Linked DNA regions of Homo sapiens: region 2 is linked to region 1. The links are contacts of gene promoters, found by promoter capture Hi-C in human tissues and cell types (Jung and others, 2019). All regions are on one chromosome and are shown on one strand. Each heading gives the region's core, a stretch centred on a gene start or on the middle of the fragment in contact. The rest is flanking DNA. Distances are from core to core; before and after follow the strand shown.

Region 1 (4,668 bases), core at 754-3,253:
GATGATAAATTAAAAAAAGAAAAAAAGCAAGCAAACAAGGTCCCTCCAGTAGTCCTCTTCACTCCCCACAAACCAAACCAAACATCAATCCCCCAATTTTTTAACAATGAAAGTTAATTGAAGGAATGTATGAATGGACAGCAAAATTTCTATCGATAATTACTCAACATTTTCAAAACAAGAAGCATTTTACAACTACTATCATATATGTTTATCGCATGATTTTAGAAAGTTCTGTTGGGGCCATCAATACACCATCCTAAAAAATAAGCAGGTTCAATTTTCATTTGTTTCCATGCTCCAAACTTTGTAAAAAAAAATTCCAATCAAAAGAATTAAAGGCAAATTTTTTAGTCTACCGGGTAACTATTATAGTCTATTGCTTTAAATCTTTCCTCAAAGAGAACTAAAGCCTAAACTGACCTTCTGATTTGACTTTTTGGTTCTAGATGTTTATATCATGAACTCCCCAAAAGGACAAAATTCGCCCTTCAGCACACACACCTCAGGTGTTTTTATGTGCTTCCCCTAGTGACTAGAATAAACATCTACACAACAGCCCGGAACGTGTTGCATGGGGCTTTTGTTTTCTTTCCAGGGTTTCACACGAACTCACTTCTACTAACTCACTTCTACAATTCCCTATGTAGGGTAAACTTTGGAAATGAAACTCACTGACAAACGTTCCAGTACATTTAAGCTGGGGATATCGTATTCTTTGTGATGTTTGTATTTCTCCGACCCCAAATATATTAATAAAAACTTTTTTCTGAGCCCTCTTCGGTGGGGGATAGAGTGAGAAGAGAAATGGGAGAGGGCCTGTTAATTTTCAGGTCATCTTTTAAGTTACAGAACAGTATATACTGACTAGTTATCTTAAAAATACTGAGCCAATGAATTCGTTCAGCTATGTAAGATTAAAGAAAGACAGATTTTTTTTTTTTTACCGTAAAAACCTGTAAAGGAGTGGTCAGTTTTTAGATGAAAGGTCATAGGAAGAAGAGCATTAAAAGTTGAGATATAAAGAAGAGAAAAAACCCAACATCGAGGAATTAGAAAAATAAGGCGTGACAGCATTTCCACATTCATTTCGAAGTGAAAGGAAAGTCGAAGGGACATTAAGGGAAAAGGGCTCCTTGCGTAGTTTCCCCTCACAGCTCTCGTCTTAAGAACGCTTAAGGGTCGGTGCGGTCGTTGACTAACCACTTCATTAGGCTCGTCCCACCTTCAACCTCAAGGCTTTCGCCTTTTTAGACGCAACGCCGCCGGTTCCAACAGAGACGCGGCCGCTCACTGAAATAGAGAGCCAAGGAGACACAGGCCCCAGCTAGTCCCACGCCAGCTTCTCCCCGCCCGGAAAGCAGCCCCGCGCACTTTCGATCCCGAGACCCTCTACGATGCTCGGGGTCGCCAGAAATGCCACCGCAGGAAGCACCTACCACTATCCGGACGGAGGGGAGCTCCCTGCCGCCTCCTCCCGCCCAACCGCGACGGGGACCCACACCTCGGAGCAGACATAAGGAAGCCTCAGGGGTGGGGAGAAGGGAGGAAGCAATGCGGGGGCGGGGAGGGAAGAGGACCCAGAAGTCCAGGTATCAGTCAGCCTCCAAAAAAGGGGGAGGGGTGTTATCCGTGGTGTTTGGGGAAGGAGTGGAACCCAGAAGCCATCTTGGGATGGGAGGAATCAATCGCGATGGCTCCAGAGGTTGCTCCTCGCGGGACTACCCGCAACCCCGCCCGACCGCGCTTGTTCCCGTGAAACCCCGAGCATTGGGCCGCCGCCTAGACGGCTCCCGCGGCTTTGTACTCACTCTGCCCTCGAAGTTGTTTTCCTCCACATCACTCATGTCGACGAGGCGCTCCCCAGAACTAAATAAGAGACAAGTCTCGGCTCGAGGGCCGATGGCCTAATTAACCCGCTGACTGGACCGTGGGGAAGAGGAAAGAGTCGGCAACCACAGCCGCTCCACTCCACTCCCACTCGGTCGCAGGCTCCAGCAAAATGGCGCCGGCGCCGCCAGAAATCTCCTGGCCTCCTCAGAGCACGACGTAAAGGGGGCGGGCGTCTCTGTGACGTCACGAGGCTCCACCTCCCGCGAGGCTTTGTGTCGGCTGGGCCTGGAGCGAGGGTGGAGGTTGGCGGGCGGCCTGCGCTCTCAACCTGGGCGCCTTGGAATCGCGGTCCCGTGCTGTCCTCCAAACTTCAGACTCACCTCGGACGCGTCAACCTCTTTGAAGACTTTTCAGTCGCCAGATGAGCCTTATATGACCTTAGCCCCTTTAAATATTGTCCAAGTGGATTCTGATGTAAGGGAACAAAACATTGGAAGCGTTTTTTTATGTTTGTTTATTTTTTGAGTCAGGGTCTCGCTCTGTCACCCAAGCTGAAGTGCAGTGAAGCGATCACTGCTCACCACAGCCTCAAACTCCCGGGCTCAGACGATCCTCCCACCTCAGGCTCCCGCGCGCGCCACCACGCCCGGCTAATTTTTTTCTTTTTTGGGACGGAGTCTCACTCTGTTGCCCAGGCTGAAGTGCAGTGGCGCTATCTAGGTTCATTGCAACCTCCACCTCGCAGGTTCAAGCAATTCTCCTGCCTCAGCCTCCCCAGTAGCTGGGATTACAGGCATGCACCACCACGCCCGGCTAATTTTTGTATTTTTAGCAGAGACGGGGGTTTCACCATGTTGGACAGGCTGGTCTCAAACTCCTGACCTCAGGTGATTTGCCCGCCTGGGCCTCTCAAAGTGCTGAGATTGCAAGGGTGAACCACCGTACCCGGCCCACCCGGCTAATTTTTGTGTGTTTTGCAGAGATGGGGTTTTGACATGCTGCCCAGGCTGGTCTCGAATTTGTGGACTCAAGCGATCTGCTCGCCTCGGCCTCCCAAAGTGCTGAGATTACAGGCCTGAGCCACCGCGCCCGGCTGGAATCGTGTATATATAACAGGCTTTTGGGGGGCACGTTGTCAGCTGACTGTATTACTTTTCTTCCATATTTGCCCTGTGTAATGTCGACGTAGTACATGCACAGATGAGGTTATGATGCAAAGCCGCTGCTCCTTGCCTCGTGTCCCTGCTCCAGTTCCCCCTCCTAGAGACAGCCGTGTAGTTTTTTTTTTATAATGCTTAGCTCCCTACTAGTTTTTTTGACTTAGATATTTCCATAAAGCTTCACAGTGAAGACCTCCCAAATCTGTCAACTTGGTTCCCAATCATAGTAATAATCTCTGAGATGAGTTTTACTTGTGTAATGCAACTTTAAAAATTAGTTTCATCTTAAATTTTTTTCCTACAGTGCTTTGTAGTAAAAAGATTGACATAGACTTTCAACTATAGTTCTATGGTAGGAAAGTTCATCTGGCATTATTATGAAGATTGCTACCACTGGGGGCAAGATTTCAGCATTTGAATGTCAGTTATTGATAGGGATAAACTTAAATGACATCTGGCTCTTAGAAAAGATGTTGAACTTGGCTGGGTGTGGTGGCTGACGCCTGTAATCCCAGTACTTTGGAGACCCTAGGCGGAAGATCGCTTGAGGCCAGAAGTTCGAAACCAGCCTGGTCAACATGGTGAGCCCCCATCTCTACAAAAGAAATTATTATTATTATTATTGAGACGGAGACTTGCTCTGTCACCCAGGCTGGAGTGCAGTGGCGCGATCTCGGCTCACTGCAACCTCCACCTCCGGGTTCAAGTGATTCTCCTGGCTCAGCTTCCCGAGTAGCTGGGATTACAGTGCGTGCCACCACACCCGGCTAATTTTTGTATTTTTCGTAGAGATGGGGTTTCACCATGTTGGCCAGCGTGGGCTGGAACTTGTGACTTCAGATGATCTGCCCGCCTCAGCCTCCCAAAGTGCTGGGATTACAGACGTGAGCTGCCACGCCCAGCCAGGTTGATACCATTTGAACCACTGATCAATCTTAGTACCATTAAAAGTGAGATAACCAGATACGAGATACCTCATGATGTGATGCAATAGAAAATACCCAGTTCCTCCTGTGAAGTATTCCTGATCCCTCAAATTGAACTCAAATCTAATTAAACCTTAGATCTAGCCAACAGTTTACAGGAAATACAAGAAAGGGAAAAATAAAAACACCGAGATGAAGTAATCAACTTCCACAGGACAAATAACCACATTCCCCAACAGATTAAATTCACAATCAAGGATGGGAGAAAGGTAGACTATTATGGACTAAGAGTCTTCCCCCCTACCCTTTTTTCCTTTTATTTATTTTTTGGAGACATAATCTGACTCTGTCACCCAGGCTGGAGTGCAGTGGCACAATCATGGCTCCAACGATCCTCCCACCACACCCTCTCACATAGCTGGGACTACAGGCCCCCAACACCATGCCCAGCTAATTTTTAAATTATTGTAGAGACCAGGTTTTGCCATGTTGCCCAGGCTGCTCTCAAACTCCTGGGCTCAAGTGATCCTGCCGCCTAGGCCTCCCAAAGTGTTGAGGAACCAGGCCGGGCCTAGAAGAGTAGTTTCTTTTTTCTTTGCCTTTTTTTTTGAGACAGAGTTTCACTCCCGTGCCCAGGCTGGAGTACAGTGGCACAGTCTTGGCTCACTGCAACCTCTGTCTCTCGGGCTCTAGAGATTATTCTGCCTTAGCCTCCCCAGTAGCTGAGACCACAGGTGCATGCCACTGTG
Region 2 (4,668 bases), core at 1,225-3,724, 840 kb after region 1:
CTCGCAGGGGATACCCTGTGGGTGGACTCCTAAAGGGCAGGAAACAGAAGAACTCGGAACACTCTCCACCCCCTAATAGAGTGTGTTCCTCTGTGCTGCCGCCTTTAGTGGGGAATTAATGAGCTGGAGGAGGTGGGTGCTGCTTTCACTTCATGGATTATGCGCCCCTATAGGATGTGTCATCTCACCTCCCTCACCCTGAAGACCACAGGTGGACCCTTCCCCAGTCATACCATGGGCAGTCCTCCTGATTTTGTGTGTCCTTGAACTAAGAATGCCTTGTATATTTTTAAACAATTGGGAAAAAATGAAAAGACATAAAATATGTTGTGACATGGGAAAACTGTATGCAATTCGAAATTGTGTCCACAGAGTTTTATTGGAACACAGCCACAGCTATTTGCTTAGGTAGTCTCTGTTGCTGCTTTCATGGGCAGAATGGAGTAGTTGCAACAGGGACCATCTAAAATAGTTACTAGCTGGCTCTTCACAGAAAAATTTTTCTAACTTTTACCCTCTGTCATGGGGCTCCATCTCAGCCCAGAAGTACTGTCAGGAGCCAAAGTCTCTGGGCCCAGTTGGGTCAGGCCTGGAAGCTATAGCCGCTTTGACTCCTGTCCAAAGGCCAAATCAGAGCCCAATGTCTGGGGCTCTTCACTGAGTGGGTTCTGGAGGAGGGTTATTGGGTAGGGCAAAACAAATGTGGGTGCTTCATACACTGAGTTCAATACAACATCTATAAAGTTATGGAGAGTTAGCTCCAGAAAGGACTTTAAAGATCTCATAGTTCATTTTACTTATGAGGAAAACCAAGGTCGATAGAGAAAAAGTCATTTTAAAAAGTCATTTCCCAAGGCCACACAGCTGACACTGGATTAGAACCCACATTTTTCTTACTTCCTGTTAATACTCCCATGCTCTTCCCACAGCCCCTGCTCCATCATCTTTCTGATACTTCTGGAATCAGAGCCTATTCCTTCAAACCTTTCAGTGAGCAATGTCCCTTCTTGCAAAGTTCGCTATCAGTTGTGATATGGGAATCCAGGGCCTATGAAGCACATGTGTCTCTAAATTGGGAATTTCTCGTATCTGACATTAGGATGTTGTCTCATCAGTAAGACCAGGAAATGTCTAAAGGCACCATCCTGCAATTGTCTGGAACTCCTTGCTAGGCATAAGGGCATAGAGTAGCTTTTGCCATTCAGAAGTTGTTCTCTGCCTTCAGATTCCAAGACCATTCTAGCGACAGCCTTTCAAACATGACCATGTATCTAATTAATAATATGGATTTTCTGTTGTAAGTTAAAGCCCAAATATAGCTTCAAAATTTGCTTGGCCAGGCACATTTAATAATACCTAAATGCCCCCATGTGTTAAATATTCATCCATTTTTTTCCATAACTGCTTACAATAAATATTGATGATCGTCTAACTTTGAAAATGGCTATGTACATGGAAGAATATTCATGTGTGTCTCACTGATTTTCCTGACAGCGCCAAATGGAGCAGGTAAGCCAATTTAACACAACCAATTTCCACTTTTGCGCAGACCAAATAGGAGAAGTTCTGTGGAAATGAATAATCAATCTCATACCATTATTAATAATAATATTTAGCTTACATACAGCTCTTTCCATCTTCTAAGCACTTCGGCAACATTAACAAATTTATTGTTAATACTCAAGGGAGGCCTTTTTGTAATGGGAATGAGAAACCAAAAGGGATGTAAATGGCCACTTAGGGCTGAGGGACAAGTGCAAAGCAGGAGAAACTGGTGAGTCCCTGTTCCCATGGGATTCCCTAAGCTCTTCAATATTGCGGAAGTGTTGCAAGCCTAGGAGGCAAGTCTAATTTTTAAATCTTAGTTTTAAAAGGTGTGTGCTGACCATAATAGAACTACATTTATTACTATTTTTTGAACACCCACTTTAGGCCAAACACTGCTAAGTGTTGGGAACATTAAAAGAAAACAGCTTCTATCCTGAAGAAACTTACAGAATAGTGAGGGAGAGGGAGACCTGAATCCCCCAACAGCCTGCAGTGGGATGAAGGCCCATCTGAGAGACACACAGAGAGGCACAGCTGCACCGAGGAGCACCCAGCACCCCATGAACACCTTCCCTGAGAAGGTGTTGCTCCAGCCGAGCCCTACAAGGCAGCTGAATTAGGAAGGGGGATTTGAGCAGGAGAGACATTCTAGAGAAAAGGAAAAACATGAAGCAAAGGCAGTATGGAAGAGAATTGTGTCTTCTGGGAACTATAAACACTTTAGCTGGACTGGAGTGAAGAATAAGACAATGAGATGCAGCCATTACAGCTGAGCAAAATCCTAAAGATGTCTCCAGTAATATCTCCCATCCCACATGCTCTTCTACAATGGGAGCTTGCCACCCTCCCCCATCTAGAGGCGGGGTTACATCCCCTCCACTTGAATCTGAGCAGGTTTATGACTGCTTTACAAATGCAGCAGAAGGAAGCGATGCTATGTGACTGCTGAAGCTAGGTCAAACGAAGCACTTTTCTGACTCTTGGAACACTGAACCGCCAGCTGAGAAGTCCAGCTGGCCTGAGGCCACCGTGCTGGTACTCAGGCCACCAGGCTACAAGGAGAGGTCGCAGGTGGGTGCTCAGGTCAACAGCCCCAGCTGAGATCCCAGCCGACAGCCAGCATCAACTCCAGATGTGAGTGATGACACTTCCAGATCATTCCAGCTCCCAGCTATTAAGCCGCCCCCAGCTTGGGAGTTTCCAGCAGAGACTCCAGACTCTGTGGAGCACAGGCAAGCCGTCCTCATTGTGTCCTGTCTGCATCCCGACTCACAGAATCCATGAGCATGATAAAATGGCTGACATTTGGGAGTGGTTTGTTACCTAGTAATAGTAACCACAACGCCAACACCGCAGATTTTTTTACTTTATTTTCAGTTAGTAGAGAAGCATTGAAGGATTTTCAGGCGGAGTGTGGTGTCATCAGGTTTTGTGTTCAGACGGAGGGGCAGGAACAGGTGGGTCCTGTGTGAAATGAGAAGACCATCTGGCCAGTGGTTTCTGTATCTCAGGCCTATGGATACTCTCAGATGAATCCAGGGCATCACCTTCCTGTCACTGCTGGCCAGTTTCCCTCTAGCTCAGTGATTTGTATTTCCGGTTCCACGGTAGGATCACTCCGGAGAAGCAAAAATATCCCATTTCTTGGGTCCCACCCTAGATCAATCAAGTATGAATGTCCGAGGAGGGGGATCTGACGTTGGATTTTTTTTTTTTTTTCAGAGTCTTGCTCTATCACCCAGGCCTGTAGTGCAGTGGCGCGATCTCAGCTCGGCTCACTGCAACTTCTGCCTCCCAGATTCAAGCAATTCTCCTGCCTCAGCCTCCTGAGCAGCTGGGACTACAGGAGCCTGCCACCACACCCGGCTAATTTTTGTATTTTTAGTAGAGACAGGGTTTCACCTTTTCGGTCAGGCTGGTCTCAAACTCCTGACCTCAGGTGATCCACCTGTCACGGCCTCCCAAAGTGCTGGGATTACAGGCATGAGCCAGCATGCCCGGCCTGGCATTGGATTTTTAAAGGGTCCCTAGATAATTCTAATGTGCATCCAAGGTCGAGGATCACTGAGAAAGTTGCTCGCTGACCATACAACTCAAACTGGAGAAAGTTGTTCATACTGCAGATCTGAAACTCTGTTGAAAACTAAACTTACAAACTGCAAAAATCAATATACCCTCCTACCTTCGTAGAAAAAGAAATGTCTAGACACTGGGGGCTGGTTACTGTAACAGAACCAAAGGAAATATATCAGACCTGAGGCCATATTATGAAAAAGATGTAAGGTCTTGAGGGTAAATTGATCAAAAAGGGAACACTGAGACTCTCTCATCAGAAGGATTGTCTGTTTATGAATAGAATAGAGAGCTCCTTTCTTTCAAGCAGAGCTTGGTTTGATGCAGACCTCTTCCAATAAACCACTTTCTTTTGCTCTGACGCTGCCCCAAACCAAAATGGGCCAATTACATAATCACTGCTCACGTCTAGGAAACTGGATAAAAAAGAGAAATCCTCCCCCGTGTGCCTGTAATTGGAGGGATGTGGGAGAGACAGGACCAGGGTCATAACATTGGAAAGTAGTGGGCAAATCAGGATGGTGTAGAAAGGGACTGGACAGAGGAGAAAGAAGTCATGATGCTTGGTGACCTTGGGCAGGCCTCATGGCCTCTCTGAGCTCCAATTTCCTCATTCATATAAGAAGGTAGGATGATTTGGAGGTCTCTTCTTCAGCTTGAAACTATGATGCTGTGGTTAGGTTCCAGAAACCTGTATATTTTTCTTTCTAAGTACAGTTCTGCCCCAGACTAGCCCTGAGTCCTAATGCACAGCACCTCATTCCTCTGTTTATTAACAATGTGTTTCTGATGCTTTGACACCTGGGGCCTTGCTGACCCTGGAGAAACTGCCCTTCCCGGAGACAGCCAATTTCTAGAGATAATAAAGAACTTATCTGCAAGCACACTTTTGATATGCAAACAAAACATTCCAGAGCTCACACCCCAACCACCTGCTTTATCAGGCTCTCGCCTTCTGGGCCATCATCCACCTGCTCTCATCACCCAGGGTCAGGTACCAGATGGCTGGGGACAACCTGTGTGACCCAGAGCCTGCTGAAATGCTGA

The links. The method cuts DNA at HindIII sites, captures the fragments that hold promoters and counts their contacts. A contact is called where the count stands out against the background at its distance.
Region 2: a fragment that was not itself captured here is called in contact with the fragment with the promoter of TRA2A in region 1 in 1 of the 25 tissues and cell types used here (mesenchymal stem cells).

Annotation. Positions count from the first base shown.
Region 1 is chr7:23,529,978-23,534,645 of GRCh38, forward strand. It overlaps TRA2A (transformer 2 alpha homolog), which reads right to left and starts at 2,004. Exons shown (of 8, transcript NM_013293.5): 1 at 1,812-2,004. The coding sequence starts at 1,847. RefSeq lists enhancers at 1,062-1,632, 1,633-2,202, 1,744-1,793, 1,814-1,863, 1,874-2,093 and 3 more. The HindIII fragment of the contact is 6,699 bases long and covers 1-4,668 here.
Region 2 is chr7:24,370,755-24,375,422 of GRCh38, forward strand. The region is part of intron 1 of LOC107986777 (a long non-coding RNA gene); the gene reads right to left. Among named protein-coding and RNA genes, the nearest start is that of NPY, 89 kb to the left of the region's middle. The HindIII fragment of the contact is 8,312 bases long and covers 1-4,668 here.